4 separate regions of the Homo sapiens genome follow, and regions 1, 2 and 3 are each linked to region 4. Evidence: promoter capture Hi-C in human tissues and cell types (Jung and others, 2019). All regions are on one chromosome and are shown on one strand. The core of a region is centred on a gene start or on the middle of the fragment in contact, and the rest is flanking DNA. Distances in the headings are between cores, read along the strand shown. Region 1 overlaps TOM1L1 (target of myb1 like 1 membrane trafficking protein). Region 2 overlaps STXBP4 (syntaxin binding protein 4). Region 3 overlaps STXBP4 (syntaxin binding protein 4). Region 4 holds the start of MMD (monocyte to macrophage differentiation associated).

Region 1 (4,155 bases), core at 724-3,223, 480 kb before region 4:
GCAGAAGAATCACTTGAACTCAGGAGGTGGAGGTTGTGGTGAGCCGAGATCGTGCCACTGCACTCCAGTCTGGGTGACAAAGTGAGACTCCATCTCAAAAAAAAAAAAAAAAAAAAAAGATTATGGACTGGAGCTTGAGGTGAAGGTAGAGCTCAGTATGTACTGTAATTTTTTACTTTTGTGCTAGGCAGAACAAGATGTAAAATCCTTTGCATTCTGGATCAGCTTGGGATTTTAGAAAATCCAATACAATAATATTTGTTACCCTTACAACAACTTCTTCTCATGGCAGGGAAATTCTTTCTCTCTCTACCTACCATAAATGATGCTTTTTAATTTCTCTTAGAGCTAGGAAATCTCATGATTTTAGGGTGACAGAAATATCTAAATTAATCTCTTTTATTTGGTGGGTTTTTCTTTTTTTTTTCTTTTTCTTTTTTCTTTTTTTTTGTTTTTACTGTAGAAAATCCAGCATAACTGACTGACAAAATGTTTTAAAGCCAAACAAGTCCATTTTGTGTTTTAGATTTCAGCCTTCCAAGTTCTGATGTAACAAACAACTTAAAACCCAGTCTTCATCCACAGATGAACTTGCTAGCCTTGGAGAATACAGAGATACCCCCGTAAGTATGTCAGTAACACTGCAGAACTAATATCATGACATTTAGATTCCTTACAATTAAGAAAACCTGATGGCTGGGCGCAGTGACTTACATCTGTAATCCTAGCACTTTGGGAGGCCAAGGCACATGGATCACTTGAGCCCAGGAGTTTGAGACCAGCCTGGGCAACATGGCAAAACCTCATCTCTAGTAAAAATACAAAAATTAGTTGGGCATTGTGGCATATGCCTATAATTCCAACTACTTGGGAGGCTGAGGCATGAGAATCACTTGAACCTGGGAGGTAGAGGTTGCAGTGCAGTGCAGTGCAGGCGATATAGCACTTGGTACATAGTAAGCCTTCAATAAATTGTCTCTGTTTATTTTTAGTAGTAACAGGAGATGGGGAAGAACAGGGGAAATACAATGACAAAGGAGGCAGAAGAGCAATGAGGTTCAAAATTAAGAGTAATGGCCCCATCAGTTACAGGGTACTTGCTGTGTGGCAGGCACTCAGTTAAGCTATTTTTGTTTATTTCATCTAATCTTCACTAAAGTACTTAGGTCAGCGATGTTAGGTCAGGGTCTTGCTCTGTCACTCAGGCTGGAGTACAGTAGCACCATTATAACTCACTGCAGCCTCAAACTCCTGGGCCCAAGGGATACTCCCACCTCAACCTCTTAATAGCTGGGACTACAGGTGTGCGCCACCATACTGGGCTAATCTAATTTTTAAAATTTTTTGTAGAGATGGGGTCTCGCTTTGTTGCCCAAGCTGGTCTTGAACTCCAGGCCTCAGGTGATCCTCCCGCCTTGGCCTCCTAAAGTGAGCCACTGCACCAGCCTGTTATCATTATTCCCATCATACAGGAAAAGAGACTGAGATTTCTTGGTCATTTCTCTATTGAAGGAACTAGAACTTGCCCAAGTTTGTATAGCCAGTAAGTAGCAAGTCTGATGGACTGATAGTCCAATATTAAAATTGGACTAATAAAACCTGATGGAGTAGCTGGAACCTCCTGAGTAGCTGGAATTATAGGCATATGCCCCAATGCCCAACTAATTTTTGTGTTTTTAGTAGAGGTGAGGTTTTGCCGTGTTGCCCAGGCTGGTCTCAAACACCTGGGCTCAAGCGATCCATGTGCCTCGGCCTCCCAAAGTGCTAGGATTACAAGATGTGAGCTACTGCACCCAGCCATCAGGTTTTCTGATAGTCCAATATTAAAAAGAAATATTAATGACCTATAAACATATGCAATGATGTTCAACTTTACTTATAGAGAAATGTCAATTAAAGTCTAATAAGAAATTGTTTTCTACTTCTCAGGTTGGCAAAAGTCCCAATATTTCATAACATACTTTGTTGGCTATGGAAAGACAGTTACTATGACAAAATTATGTAACTCTTATAGGGGCAGGTGGCAATATCTATTAAAATTATAAATGCATTTATTTCTTTGAATCTGCAATCTTATCTGTAGAAATTTATACCACACTTACACACAGTTAGGTGTTTACAAAATTATTCTTTACAACATTTTGGGCAATAGCAAGTAATTGGAAACAACTCAAAATATCCCTCAGTTGGGGACTGGTTAAATAAACATCTGTACAACATATTACTGTCTAGCTGGGGGATAAAAGTAATAATCACCAATATATTTATTGCTAAGTAGGAAAAAAAGGTGCTAAGTAGTGTGTGTGTAATATATTGCATTTGTGTAAGAAAGTTGGAAATAAGAATATATATTAATATTTGCCTCTATTCACATAAAGAAACAAGAATGATACAGGAAGGAAAAAACTGAAAAAGAGTGAAAGAGTGGTTACGTAAGTTCCAGAAGAGGCAGGATAGAATAAATAGCAGTTGAATTTGCCTTATGCCAATGTCAATAGCTTTTTTCCTTTTAAGTGTATATATTTTAGATAATAGGCAACACATTTTCATTATTCAGATATCAAAACAGTATAAAAAGTTGTATAAGACAATTCTTGTTTTCATTCCCTCTTCATCCTCCCTCTCTCCTTTTCCCTAGTGTCACGCTCTACTCCCACCCAGATAATTATTTGTTAGGTTCTGATTTATCCTTCCATAGTGTCTTTAGGCAAATAGGAATATGAATTTCTTTCTCCGTTATTCAATAAAATGCAGCATACTATCACTGTGTTCTGAACCTTTTGTTTTTCACTTAACATACTTTGGCAGTGTGTTTGTATCAGTGGATTTAGATTTTTTAAAAAGTTTCCTAGTGTTTTGTTTAAATACTTATGTACCCAATCACTGAATTACTTTTCTATATTTAAAAGGGGGAGGGGCAGAGGGAGGAAAATGAGAAAGAAGAATCAAACTGGGAAGAAAAAAGAGCAAAATATAAGGGAAGAAGAGAAGAAAGGATTCATGTGTTGGGAAATGATTAAGTGTCAATGGCTCTTTCATGAACCACTGAGTTAGGTCAGTATCTTCTGTTGGCTACCTCTTGTTTTGGCTACATGCAATGCAAGTAAATGTTGAAATGTAGGCAGATTGAAGTCGCTTGGTAAATAGTGTGGTTTAAAATAGCTGATTCTGTTTGTGTTATCTTGCTAATCTTGTTGGGTAATGAGAGAAAGAATAATACAGATAAAATCCCATTACAACAAGTGTCTATAAAATTCATTAAAAGTCAAATTTCAGCTAATAGCTGCCTGTTTTAATCTGTAACCTACTTGGATCTAATAATTCAGTATGCATAAAAATCACTTGGGTGACTGTCAAAAAGTCAAATTGCTGGTCCCCAGAAACTCTGATTCAGCAGCAAGAATCTTTAACATGCATTCCAGGAGGATCATAATGCAGTGGTTTTCCTATCATACATTGAGAAACCCTATGATGAACATCTATACCAAGATTCGAGGGCGTATACCTGGTTTAAATCATATGCCTAAGATCACTTGTGAGAGGCAAAATCAGCCATTAAAATGTCTTATAATGTTGAGATTTTTTCCATCCCTTTGTTTGCAGTTTAATTTATTCACCATCACAGAAAAAGTGGGTGATGCAGTTTTTCATAACAGAAAGAATCCTTAAAAAACAATAACAAAGAAGACAGGATAAAACATAGGTCATTTTTTTTTTGAGACAGAGTCTTACTTTGTCACCCAGACTGGAGTGCCGTAGTTCGATTTTGGCCAACTGCAACCTCCACCTTCCAGGTTCAAGCGAGTCTCCTGCCTCAGCCTCCCAAGTAGCTGGGATTACAGGCACCCGCCACCACACCCATCTAATTTTTTTTTTTTTTTGTATTTTTAGTAGAGACCTGGTTTTACCATGTTGGCCAGGCTGTGGTCTCAAACTCCTGACCTACGGTGATCTGCCCACCTCGGCTTCCTGAAGTGCTGGGATTACAGGCATGAGCCACTGTGCCCGGCTCATAGGCCATATTTATGACCCATTTACTAACAGGCAACAAGCTAAGAAGTATAGAAATGCTTACTAATTACTTAACCTATGAGGTATGTGCCACCATCATTTTCATTTTAAACAAGAGGAAACCAAGGCTGAGGAAGATTAACT
Region 2 (4,257 bases), core at 342-2,841, 280 kb before region 4:
GCTGACAAAAATGCTCACCACATGTAAATGACAAGTCATAATCCAGTTATTGCAACTAAAGCAGATTGTTAACTGCTCAAGACTTATTTATTGTGTTCTAAAGATGCTGAGTATGAAAGCTCATCTGAATTGTCTTAATTCCCCCTTTCTAGAAAATTATTTTGTATAAGAAATGTGCTCAAATAATTGTAAAGATGAGGGAGGTTTGTGTCCAGGAAATAAAGTTATCTTTATCATCTTATTAAATATATTTTTGGTTTCCTTTCACTGTAGGTTTACCTTATGGGTGGGAGGAAGCTTACACAGCAGATGGAATCAAGTACTTCATCAAGTAAGTACAAGCATCTCAACCAAGTAAGCAATTTTCTTCACATCTGGAGAGAACCTGGAAGTTGCAGAATAATCAGCAAAACTAAGAAACCTTCTTGGAGGTTACAAAAATTAGTAACAAGAAATGAAGCCTCACCATTTTCGTTTCATGTGATTTAAATGCTAATATCAGATATCATTTGGGGGAAAAAACCTGGTAATAATTTCTAGGGAAACATCAAAAAATTGGAACAGGATCATCATTTGAACTTAGGCTGGCTGCCTAAATTCACTTGCTGGCTAATAGTATTAGTGTTTATGAAAAGTTAATACCTAGCAAAAAAATCCGTTTTGTATATCTTTGAAAGTTCTTAACAATAATGCTAATATCAACATTTTTTAATGCTTTAAAATGCACACAGTTCATTCTGCAACTATTTTTTGAGCATTTGCTGTTTGCCAGGCAGTGTTCCACGCCCTGCAGATATAGTGGTGAAATATATAGACTGGTTTCTTGATAGCATAGAATTTACATAATAGAGAGGAAAAACAGACAGTAGATAAATAACTTGAGATAAATAGGACAGTATATGAACAAACCTTACCTCAGTGGATTCTCAGAACAACCTCTTGAGGTATGTATACCTTGTCATTTTTTCTGTTTTATAGATGAAGAAAATAAGAGTCTTGAGTAGTTACCAAAAAATCTATCACTACTTAATTACCAAGTCAGAACTAGAGTCAAAGTCTTCTGACCGCAAGATTCTACTATCTGCACTAGACTGTCACTGATAAAGACCCATCCTTAAAGCCTGAACAGGAATACATTTCCTAGATGCTGAACTGGTTAGTTTTGCCCTGGACAGAGCACTGTGATATACTTCTACCGTTTCCTGAAAATTCCTTTTATGTCAGAATTGACATTTCGAGAGCACAAAGGGGAATCCCAACAGACTCCTAAGAGCCCAGGGGACTCCTTTGTGTATCCTTTTAGCAAAGTATACTTGGTATGCATTTTGGGAGGAAAAGGGAGACATGTCCTTGCTATCCCCTTTCAAATGTGCAAATATTTTACAAAGCAATATCCAGATTTTGGATTCTCATGCCCCGCAACTTTACACAGTTCCTACATCTCTGTTAACCTCAGCTTTCACATCATATACTGAGGGGAATATTACCTACTTTATAAAGTTGTTTAATCTTAAGTACCTAGCATAGAACTTGGAACACAGTAGATGCCCAATAAATAGCCATCATGAATTTACAATATGGAGAAACCATCGTGGAGGGGAAAAAAAACCTGAACAATCATATGACCATTAAAAACATTGAGAATTCAAAAGCTTTGTATTTGAAAAAATTTAAGGAAAAACTAGAGATAAACCTGGCAAAGTGTTTTCATGCTGAATTTTTTTCTTGCAATCTCTAGCATGAAGTGATTAATCAGGCAAAGGTGTTGTTTATAACATTTGAAAGAAAATGAACTTTTGGCATAGAGGACCCAGGAATTCCATGTGCAGATTACATTTAGTGCCACACTCTTTACTTCCAGAATCAGACCTCTTCTGGAAGGGGCTCTCTAGCATGCAGGATTAATCATGTTTAGTTTCTGGAAGATTTGAATCACTGTACTGTAGGAATGGCAGGAAAATGAAAAAATGCATTCAAATCTGTGTTGCATTTCTTTCTTTCTCTCTTTTTGATATTAACTTTATAAAGGAAAAGATGAGGGCATGAGCATTTACTGAGCACTAGCTTGTGCTTAATAGCCAGGAATATGCTAGGTGTATTTCTCTATGCATTATATCATTTAATGCTCTTAACAATGTGGAAAGTAGGTGTTGCTGGGCTCTTATTGGAATGGCATTATGATGGTAGTGAGCTGCATCTTGCCCTTAGCCATGCTTTCTCCTAGAAGGTTCCCCAAAGAAATGCATGATTAAAAGAAAGAAAATTAGCATTCATTATTAACTGGGGTTCTGCATTCAGGATCCTTTGAAATGTCAGTAAATGAGTCTGGATCCTGTGGGGAACTCCTTTACCTAAACCTAGCTGTCTGTCAGTATATCCTAACCCAGAGTTGAATGTCAGAATCTAACTAGTGCCTTAAGAGAAAAAAATACTAGGGGCACAGTTACCCAAAACAGAGAAAGCAGGAACAAGTGATGGTCAGCCAGAGAGTTGGTTTGTCTCCTTACCTGTTACCCAGCTAGCTTAAGCCACTGTTCTTTGCAGCCTGGAACAATAGCCTTGGGCTGGTCTCCCACTATAAGGGAGAATAGAGTCCCAGAAGAGGAGATAAAAGGGAGTCAATAAGCCCTTTGGCTGCCCTGGGAACCAACTCAGTGTCTGTGGAAAGAACAGAGAGATGCTACATTTATCCTAACCCCATTGCTTTGCTCGGAAAATATACCCCCAAAGGGTGTGTTTTGGAAGTCCATCAATTTTTTGTTTCCTTGACCTTAGTCTTGACACATAAGGAAAACAGAAAAAGAGATGATAAAATAAATGTATTCCCCAAAGGGCCATAGTAGATCTTATTGTCTTACCATTTCATTAGGAGAAACTGTTAAAAGAGGCTGTAGTCATCAAGGTCACACAGTAATAAAATTGCAGAGCCAAGATTCAGATCCAGGGTTGTCTGGCCCCAAAGCCACCTGCACACACACACACACACACACACACACACACACACACACACACACGCCTCACCACCTCTGTATCCTCATGTTAATATAGTATGTTGACATGTGACAAGAAAGACACTTCAAACAGATCTTAATTTAGGAAGAGCTCTATACTTTATCCATTTTAAAACAGCAGAATAGAAACTTGGTTGTAAGAATAAGAAGTTGTCTTCCAGAGATTAAAAAAGTCAAAGAGTAGAAATAGGAAAATCTAACAATATGCCATTACTTCTTTTACCCAGCCTCATGAAGGAATGGGGTGTTTGGCATAAGTTAGTTTTTTTTTGTTGGAACTTAACCCTATTCAAGCACCAAGACTTATTTTAGTTAACTGTTCTTGATGAAAGTCTTACTTTAATATATGTTACACACTTCCCTGACTTCTTATACAGAGGCCAGTGAACAAAATCCTTATGAACATCCATCATTATACACAATACAGTGAGTTCTACAGGGGATATTACGCTGTATAAGACACAGTAGAGACACAGCTGTCATCTCTTGCTTCTCTCAGTGTCCCTGTTCCTCTCCTCATGACCATTCTCTTTGCCCACTCTCCACAAGCCACCTTCTTCCCCAGTTTTGTACTTGAGGACAGGATGCCAGATAATGAGGCTAATTTGAACTGCTTGTAAATAGCCTTTGAATGTGGTTCTGCAGGAGTGCTTATGTAAGTCAAGTATGATACATAAGTTCTGTTGCAGGTGGATTTGATTACAGGAAGGCCATCTGGTATCAGGGAAAGAAGAGCATGGGCTTTGGACTTGGAGAAACTTTAATTAAAATGACACTGTCTACACAAAATAGCTAAATAAAATAGCTAAACCTTAGGCACATTTACTTAACCTCTCTGGGATTAATTTCTCCATTTATAAAAAGGAAAGTATATTAGCACTTCATAGGGTTCCTGTCCAGAATGAATGAGCTTGTGTATTTAAAGAGCCTATCATAGCACCTGGCCCAAAATAGACACTTTCAGCAAAGGTTAGCCCTCTTCACTCCCTCCCCTTGCTTTCACATTTTGGTGGGAGTTTCTTTATGGTTCTTAGCTGCATTCAACTAGGTGATGTTGTCAGATAAGTAAAGTTTGCATAAGCAGACATCTACTATATGTCTTTTTTGGAACTATTTCGTTTTGGTTTGTCATTTGTTTTTGTTTTGTTTTAATCTTCATTCTCTTACTACCCCAACAAAAAATTTTGAGTCTGTGTAGCCTGTGTTAGCTTTTGAGGTAAGAGTGATTCATTTACCATATAGATGA
Region 3 (4,581 bases), core at 416-2,915, 330 kb before region 4:
TTATCTTAGTGAGTCAGTGGCATTTGTTGAAATCCTCAGGTTCACACAGATTATTTGTCAAGCAGAAGGACAACTGGGGCTTGATCCTTTAGAAAGTGGAGACACACTTTAGATCTGACAGACACTGGGGCATACAGGAAGCTTTAAATGTAAGAGGAGTTGGCACGACAGCTTCAGCACCAAAAGCCACATCACTCTGCGCAGCCACCTCTTGTTCTAAGTCACTTTTCACCCCACTCAGACTGCTGAGTCATCCTTAAACTCACAATGCAAAGGTACATTTCACCCAGAGGTTTGAGAGGGTAATTCCAACAACAATTTGGTCAAATTTTAGGGCAATCAAAGGGTCTACACATTCTTTAAAAGGTCAAAAACCAGTTCTGAGTAGAGAGCTCTCTAAATTCAAGCTTTTATGAATAAAAATGTATAACATATATAATGTGTATATATACACACACATCTCATTCAGGCTATTCTAGCTCTTATAAACAAATGCATACATATACATATAAATATATGATTGTGAAAAGGTCCACAAATAAAGCCAGGAAATACAGCTCTCAAGATTCATAGTGGACTTCAGGATCAAGATAGAAGAGGGATCTCATGCTAAAACCTTCCCATTCTGCTCTTACACATAGAAATGACATTTTAAATTGTGTGTGTGTGTGTGTGTCTGTGTGTGTGTGTGTGTGTGTGTGTGTGTGTGTGTGTGTTTAGATAAAAAACAAGAAAGGAATATCACCCTGCATCAGAAACAATATGAAACTATCATGATAAGTAGGATTTTAAGCTTCAGAGATTTCACAGAATTGAGATCAGCAATTGGAGCTAAGGTTTCTACACCCAAGAGGCCCTAAATGATGCCTAAGCAAAGGAAGCAAGGAGCGGGAATCCTTCTGTAGAGAATATACTTTATTTTCTTAAATTGCTCATGTATTAGGCATTTTAAAAAATCCCTCCAGTTTATGAGCCATCTGGGCCTGCCACTAATTAAAGTTGAAAGTAAACATTTCATCCACTACAGGTGGGGAATATAAATTGGCATGACATCCTTGGGAATCCGTTTTGCAGTATATATCAAGAGCTTTTTAAATATCCATTTGGAAGGTTTTTTTGAAAGTTAAAATGTTTTTAATGGTCATATATTCTCACTCAATAATCCCACCTGTTACTATTTTTTTTGCAAAAAAGATGTGTATAAGTATATACATGTATTTTTATTACTGCATTTCTTATACAGATTGAACATCCCAAATCTGAAATCCCAAATTTGAAATGCCCCAAAATCCAAAACTTTTGAGTGCAGATATGGCCCCAGAAGTGGAAAATTTCACACCTGACCTCATGTGATGGGTGGTAGTCAAAACACAGGAGCATAACACAGTTTATTCAGCGTCCCCAAGAGAAAAAAAACTAACAAAACAAAACAAAACACCCTCCCAGCCCACTTCAGCTTTGATATATTTTTTTCTGAGCAAGCATGATGGTGATGCCAAACAACCACAGATTGTCCACATGGGTGACCAGAATAGTGACACCTTTACTTTCTGATGGTTCAATGATCACAAGTTTGGTTCACGCACAGAATTGTGACCAGAATAGTGACACCTTTACTTTCTGATGGTTCAATGATCACAAATTTGGTTCACGCACAGAATTGTTACAAATATTCTATAAAAGCTGTGTAAAAGGTGCTTATGAAACAAATGAATTGTATGTTGTAGTCTTGGGTCCCATTCCTAAGGTACCTCATTATGTATATGCAAGTATTCCAAAATCCAAAATACTTCTGGTCCAAGCATCTCAGATAAGGGTACTCAACCTGTAATATCAAAAATATGGATGTTACCATTATTCTAACGGAAGTAACTCAGGAATGGAAAGCCAAACATCATTATCTTTTCACTTATAAGTGGGAGCTAAGATATGAGGACGCAAAGACTAAGAATGACACAATGGACTCTGGGGACTTAGTAGGAAGGCTGGGAGGGGGTTAAGGGATAAAAGACTACACATTGGGTGCAGTGTACACTGCTCAAGTGATGGCTGCACCAAAACCTCAGAAATCACACCTAAAGAACTTATCCATGTAACCAAACACCACCTGTTCCCCCAAAACTATTGAAATAACAATAAATAAATAAATGAAATGAAATACATAACATTTTGAAAATATTTCTATTAACAGTAAAAAAAGTCCTAATTTCTCTCAGTAAAGAAAGATTATGATTTTGTATTTTATTAACAACCATGTAATTTAGTAGGTCTCATTACTCTGAAAAATCTTTGGCATATTATTTTAGGCAACAAAAGAAATGGATGTTCAACTTTTACAGGTTGATTCAATAACTATGTTATTTTTACTCAACCAATTGAAAAATAAGACTGTCAAGCAGTGACCATCTGATTGCATGTATTTGTCTGTGCAAGTCTCCTGCATCACTTCAGATGTTCCTATCTGAAATCAGCAATATATTACCTTTTAAGAAGAATGTGAGTAGTAGCTGCCTTTTTTCTGTTACATCTGAAGCTAATTAGAAGTTACTTAAGCAGATTAGAAAAGGTTTTATGAGAAAAAGGGGAAAGGCAGTACTGTAACATTTTAAAGGCCTTGATGGGATTTATCTTTTAAATTCTTCCCTTCTTTAGGAGCTAAAGCTTAGACTTGATATGGCGTCTTCTCATTCTACTTATTCTGGACCTCAGACATTCATCATTCTTTTCCTCATTTCCCCCAGAGCATATATTTATTAAGAAGCATGAATTTATTAAACAAAAAAACATTTTTTTTGTTTTTTGTTTTTTGTTTGTTTTTTGTTTTTTGTTTTTTGGAGACAGGGTCTCTCTCTATTGCCCAAGCTGGAGTGCAGTGGCGCAATCTCGGCTCACTGCAACCTCTGCCTCCTGGGTTCAAGCGATTCTCGTGCCTCAGCTTCCCAAGTAGCTGGGATTACAGGTGTACTCCACCATGCCCAGCTAAGTTTTGTATTCTTAGTAGAGATGGGTTTTGCCACATTGGCCCGGCTGGTCTTGAACACACACAAGTGATCTGCCCCCCTCGGCCTCCCAAAGTGCTGGGATAATAGGCATGAGTCACCGCACCCAGCCAAAACTGTGTTTCTTTAATGAAAGTCAGCTATACTATTAATATTTAGAATGGACATTATGGTATTTTCCTCTACACAAAGTAATTATGCTATTTCTTCTCCTAGAATTGGGGTGATGTTCCAAGCATTAGATAATAGCTTATTATATGATTCTGTGTCACTTGAGAGAAATTTTACCTGTTTTTGTAAAACAGCCCTGTTCTCTGGTGACTTGATTATTCAAAGCCAGATAATAACCACAACAAATATTTGTGGCATTTTGCCATTCAAGGAAATGGCGAACTCACATATTCTCCTGTGTTGTTTCAAACTGAAAGTAGGTCACTGTTGTAAGGTTCCATTAAGAAAATATATCAAATTTAATCTTGGGAGTTTTAAGTTGGCAAATTATTGCCAGCAACAAGAGAAATAATTCTTTTCCTAGTACAATTTTATTTCCAGAAAAAATGAGTTAAAGAGAAAAACATATCGCTTAAGAAAAGGTAATGATTTACATTCATTATTTCCTTCCTTCCAGAACTATTTGTTGAGTGTCTACAATGGGCCAGACCCTAGGATAACAACACAAACAAGGCCCTTGCTATCAAGCTGCTTAGGTAAATTGTAGTGGGCAGAGATGGACAAGCAAGTTCACAAATAAATAGAAAACGTAATTGTAGACAGTGATGAGTGTTATGCACATAATAAAACCAGATTATGTATTAGGAAAGATGAGTAAGTGGAGATGCTACATTAGATTAATTGACAAATAAGTCTTCTTTGAAGAGGTAACATTGCATCCCAGACTCAGCCAGGAACAAAAACTATGGGAAGGACCTTTCAGGCCCAGTACAAATGCTGTGAGATAGGAACAAACTTGACATACTTGAGGGACAGGAAAAAAAAAAAAAAAAAAGCCAGTGTATCTAATACGTATGAGCAAGCAGGAGAACAGCATGCGATAAGGGTGGATATGTAGCAAGAAGCCAGATAATACAAGGCTTTGAACACCATACTAAGGAGTTTGGATTTTATTTTAAGTGTCGTAGGAAGGCACAAGGAGTAACATGATATGGTCTACATTTTAAAAGATCCTTTGGGTGTTTGTTTAAAACTGGGCTCTAAGAGTAGCAAGAGTGAAGAAAGCAGGAAGACTAGGTGGCTATTGCAGTGATTGAGGTGGGAGATGGTGGTAACTTGGGCTCAGTTTGAAGTAACAGCTAACAAATATTTATTTTTTAAAAAGGATTAGTAGTGTGTCAGCATGTATAACTTTTTGGAACGCCTGAAATTCGGTGTTAATTTTTAAACTTTCCTATTCATGTGCATATTGTTTCAATGAGTAAAAAAAAGTCCGGTAGCACAGACAGATCTGCTGTCATCTTGGATCTTAGACTACCCCATGTTTTTCTATTGTGCCTTCTCTGCACTAATCAACTATTGGATATTTGCTTTTTTCATCAAACAAATTCCTTAAAAAGCGCTGAAATTC
Region 4 (4,645 bases), core at 765-3,264:
TATCCATTGAGAAACACACAAGCCCCCAAGAAAATTACAGTCTATGCCACACCAAAAGAAAATACCTGTATTTTTAGTTTTTAAGTGAATAATAGCGCAAAAATCACATTACAACTGTGCTAATAAGGAATGGAGAGATCAGTGTCCAGCAAAAATAATTAAAAAGTCAGTTCAATAAGCTGAGAGGGTAGCATCCTAAATGAAGTTGTTGTTGTTGTTGTTTTAACAGTTTTAACGTTTGTGCAACAAATAATTGAACAGGGTTTGTTTGTTTTTTTTCTTTTTAGAGGATCCAAAGGTATAGGTAAGAATGACAAACTCTTAATCAAACAAGGAAGGGGCAATTTCACAGAATATTGCCACTGTTCTCTGAAAACAGGAAGAGCACAGACGTGTAGAGAAGTAAAACCAAATCAAACCGCATGCACAGGGCTTCACTGATCATGACTGGAGTGCATGTTACATTCTCTCTAAAAGCCCCTCCGGTCTTCATTTCTGACATCAGGTTCTAAAGTCAGAACACTACGGTTCCATTTTGCCCTTAGACACACCGGTATGAAGTTCCACTGGGGGAACAGTGCCAAGCATTCAACACCCTGACTGATAAGCAATATATTCAGAAGTCAATCCAAGTCTTCAAGCTGATCCCCTTCCTGGTGGCCCAGACCATGGCAACTCTTCTGTGCATTTGTTGCCTCCTTTACCCTTTGGGACTGGGGGAGGAATGAGATGGGTGAGAGGGCAGTGAGGGCATGGAGATTGGAAAGAAAAAAAAAATGTGTACTTTAAAATTCTGAAATAAAAGGTAGTGTCTAAAAACTCAACAACCTTCTTGGAAGATTTCATGCATTTCTTAAAATTTCCCCTGTCACTGCACCCCCAGCAAACATGCTGGTGGTGAAGGTCCGGGAATTCACACAAAGGGATGCAGTTACCATATGCCCTGGAGAGGTGAACTTTCACCCACTTAAACAGAAAAGAAAAGCCCGGAGTTCCTCTCAGAGTCATGGGCTAACCTCCATCCATTGTTAGACGGTGGAGCCCCAGAGGGGAGTAAGGCCACGGCGCCCCCCAGCCCGGCATTTCCACCAGCTCTACAGTGAATGAGCAGTCGGCCAGCCTTCCGGTGGCGCCTCCACGGTTCCTCCTCCTCGTTTCCTAACACCGGCGCCTCCACAGCAGGTCTCGCCACCCGAAAGCTAACATGCCCCTTCGCAGAGCCCAAAAATAGCACCGCCCTGGGACGTTCAGCTGGAGAACCAGCAAGGCCCCTACACGGCCAGGCAGGGCTAAGCTGGCGGAGCGTGCCTCAGTTTCCCTGTTGCTAGGGCCGTTCACAAAGCACCCAAAATGCCTAGCACCCCGCTTTACGACAAATCTCTCCGCAGGGCGCCACCCCGTTCCGCGCGCCCCGGGAGACCCCCACCCTGGAGGTAAAGGGATGGAGGCCAAAGCCAGGTCGGAGGACTCGGGGGCGGTGCCCGGGGCTGGGGTTCGGGTTCCCAGAGAGAGCCAGAGCCCAGCCTGTATGGGGGTCGGGAGGGTGAGCCCCAGGAGCAAAGGGATCCCCGGGAAGGAGGACAGGCTTGGAGTCCCGGGGCCGGGAATCCATCTGAGGTCCGCAGATCGCGAGGGGAGACCCGGGTGAGGCAGGAGCTCCCATCCTTGGAGGAAGGGGATCGCCCAGGGACAGCAGGGTGGGGAATCCCCAGGGAACTGATCCCTGGCCAAGGTGCGGGATCCACCCAGGATGAATCCAGGTGAGGAGCCGGGAGCCGTGCGCTTAACGGCGGGATTTGGGAACCCGCTTCTGACACGGGCAGCGGGACCGGGACGCCATCCCTCTCACCGCTGGAATCGATTCTTGAACCGCATTGATCCTCTGCTCCTCCTCGGGGGCCAGGAGCTCCGTCTCGTCAGCACCGGCGGCCGGGCGCGCGGCCCTCATGGGCTTGGGCTGCTCCGGAGGCCGCCTGCGTGTCCAGCGGAACCCTTCGGCCGGGTAGGGTCGGAGTGGGCCAGGCCGGGGGTCGGGACAGGGCTGGGGCCAGACCGGGCGGCTGGGGGCGGGAGGGAGGCCGCTTCAACGGCCCCAACACCTCCCGCCTCCCGCCTCCCGCCTCCCCGGCTCCTCCGCCCCGGGGCTCCTGCGCCCCGCCCCGGAGCCCGGCTCCGCCCCCGCCGGCTCTGTTCGCCTGCGTGCACCCGCGGTCGCCGGCGCGTCAGCGCGCCGGTCAGCCAATCGGCACCCCGAGCGGCGCGGCGGCTACGCTGCCATTCATTCCCGCCGGGCTCGGGCAGCGAGGCGGGGCCTCGCTGGGGAGGGGCGGGGCGAGGGGAAGGGGAGGAGCGCGGGAACGCGGCGCCCTTCTGTAAGAGACAAGTTGGAGAAGAGATCGAGGGAGGGAGAGAAGTGGTGAAGGAGGAGATGGACCAGGAAATCTTAAAAGCATTGTGAAGAAAATAGCAGCAAACAAGCAGCCCTACCTCATTCATTTTTTCTTCATCATTAATTTCTCCATCCCTCCTTTCATTTATTCCTTCATCATTTTGAGGGCCAGCTCCCGCGAGGCTATTGTGAGAGGATCCAGGGCAGAATGAAAAACCTGTCCTTGTCTGACCCTTGAGGGAGTTGAGATCTCTGAGCGTCTTCTAACTCTGAGATTCAGTGAGATCCACAAAAGGAGGAATCCTCTGCAAGGATCCTTTTATGTTATCCTCCAGTTTATTTTTTATTTTATTTTATTTTTATCCAGGCAGCTTTCAAATAAACGAGTTGACTTGAATCAGGGTCCTGTCGCTAAACCTAAACTCAGAGGGCTTCCTGGAAGAGAAGTTCAAATAAAAATGAATGAATGGGCCAGGTGCTGTGGTTCATGCCTGTAATCCCAGCACTTTGGGAAGCCAAGGTGGGCGGATCACCTGAGGTCAGGAGTTCGAGACCAGCCTGGCCAACTTGGTGAAACCTTGTCTCTACTAAAAATACAAAAATTAGCCGGGAGTGGTGGCGGGCTCCTGTAATCCCAGCTACTCGGGGGGCTGAGATGGGAGAATCACTTGAACTTGGGAGATAGAGGTTGCAGTGAGCCGAGATTGCACCACTGCATTCCAGCCTGGGTGACAGAGTGAGACTCTGTCTCTCTCTCTCTCTCTCACACACACACACATACACACAGAATGAATGAATGGGTGATTTGTCGAGCCTTTCCAGGATCACTGATGGAAGTTATATGTGTTCCCTTCCAGGTATCGTGTCCATACCCAGCCCCCAGCCTGCAGGCTAGAGACTCTGAAGTGGCATGAGGCCAGCCTGCTAGGAGTGCTCATTCGACCTACAGTAAAGCATTGGAAAGCCAGGGAATTCTGTCACCCATAATTCTAGTTCCCTTTCCTTGAACCTTCCAGAGAGGTGCTTTCCATGCTTCAATCTTCCCAAGAGCTCCTCCAGATGGGCATTATCCAACTTATTTTACAGATAAGGCTGAGGCTTATAGTGGTCAATAAACTTGCCAAAGGCAAAAGTAAGGCTCCTACCTACCTTTCGCTAACTTTAAAGACCCACCTCCTTTCAGTACGTCAGACTATCTCTCCCTGTTTTAAAGCAATACACTTCTCTAAAACAAAACAAACAAAACAAAACTTCATCTACCCGCACCCTCAACACTAAATCGGGAAAATGAACCTGGAATGAAAGTCTGCTTCTTATCAGCTATGTTGGGCCACTGGGCTAAAACATCAGTGCGGGAGGGGAAGGTAACAAAGGAGATAGCTAATAAAGATAGATGAAAAATAGCCATGTGTAATAACATAAGAAGGGTTAAAAAATAAAACAAGGAAGCTCAATTGTAACAGATGTACCACACTGTTGGGGGATTTTGATAACAGGAGAGGCTATGTATGTGTGGGAAATCCCTGTACTTTACTCTCAATTTTTGAGTGATCCTAAAACTTCTCTGGAAAAAAAAAAGTCTTTTTTTTTTTTTTTTTAAAGGGCCAGGCACAGTGGTTTGCACCTGTAATCCCAACACTTCGGGAGGTCTAGGTGGGAGGATCGCTTGAAGCCTGGAGATTGAAACTAGCCTGAGCACCAAAGCAAGAGTTCATCTCTAACAACAACAACAACAAAATTAGCCAGGTGTTGTGGTAGGCACCTGTAGTCCCAGCTACTTGGGAGGTTGAGATGGGAGGATCACTTGAACCTGGGCCACAGAGTGAGATCCTGTCAAAAAAAAAAAAAAAAGAAGGAAGGAAGGAAAGAAAGGCAGTGCTGATATATGTTACAACATGGATGAACCTTGGAAACACTATGTTAAATGAAAGAAACCAGTCACAAAGAACTGCAGATTGTATGATTCCATTCATACAAAATTCCATTTATATGTCCCAGAACAGGCAAATCTATAAAGACAGAAAGTAGATTAGTGGTTGCCTAGGGCAGGGGAATGGGAGGGGATTGAGAAGTGATGGCTAAGCGGTACAATGGTTCTTTTGGGGTCTAATGAAAATTTTCTCAAATTGTGATAATGGACGTACAATTCTGTGAATATATAAAAGCCACTGAACTCTACACTTTAAGTGGGTAAATTGTATGGCATAGGAATTCTATCTTAATAAAGTTGTTAAAAGATTTTGAAAAATTTTAGTT

Evidence for each region. Contacts are between HindIII fragments. The study calls those that stand out against the background at their distance.
Region 1: a contact is called between a fragment that was not itself captured here and the fragment with the promoter of MMD in region 4, in 1 of the 25 tissues and cell types used here (dorsolateral prefrontal cortex).
Region 2: a contact is called between a fragment that was not itself captured here and the fragment with the promoter of MMD in region 4, in 1 of the 25 tissues and cell types used here (thymus).
Region 3: a fragment that was not itself captured here is called in contact with the fragment with the promoter of MMD in region 4 in 2 of the 25 tissues and cell types used here (H1 embryonic stem cells and bladder).

Annotation. Positions count from the first base shown.
Region 1 is chr17:54,938,398-54,942,552 of GRCh38, forward strand. It overlaps TOM1L1 (target of myb1 like 1 membrane trafficking protein), which reads left to right. Exons shown (of 16, transcript NM_005486.3): 11 at 527-623. Among named protein-coding and RNA genes, the nearest start is that of COX11, 28 kb to the right of the region's middle. The HindIII fragment of the contact is 6,558 bases long and covers 1-4,155 here.
Region 2 is chr17:55,141,037-55,145,293 of GRCh38, forward strand. STXBP4 (syntaxin binding protein 4) reads left to right here. Exons shown (of 18, transcript NM_178509.6): 17 at 274-331. Among named protein-coding and RNA genes, the nearest start is that of HLF, 120 kb to the right of the region's middle. The HindIII fragment of the contact is 5,724 bases long and covers 1-4,257 here.
Region 3 is chr17:55,090,179-55,094,759 of GRCh38, forward strand. All of the region lies in intron 16 of STXBP4 (syntaxin binding protein 4), which reads left to right. It overlaps LOC107985002 (a long non-coding RNA gene), which reads left to right. Exons shown (of 2, transcript XR_001752943.2): 1 at 1-2,496; 2 at 3,628-4,015. Among named protein-coding and RNA genes, the nearest start is that of STXBP4, 120 kb to the left of the region's middle. RefSeq lists an enhancer at 1-65. The HindIII fragment of the contact is 5,652 bases long and covers 1-4,491 here.
Region 4 is chr17:55,419,821-55,424,465 of GRCh38, forward strand. MMD (monocyte to macrophage differentiation associated) reads right to left here and starts at 2,015. Exons shown (of 7, transcript NM_012329.3): 1 at 1,850-2,015. The coding sequence starts at 1,875. RefSeq lists a silencer at 1,956-2,415. The HindIII fragment of the contact is 18,270 bases long and covers 1-4,645 here.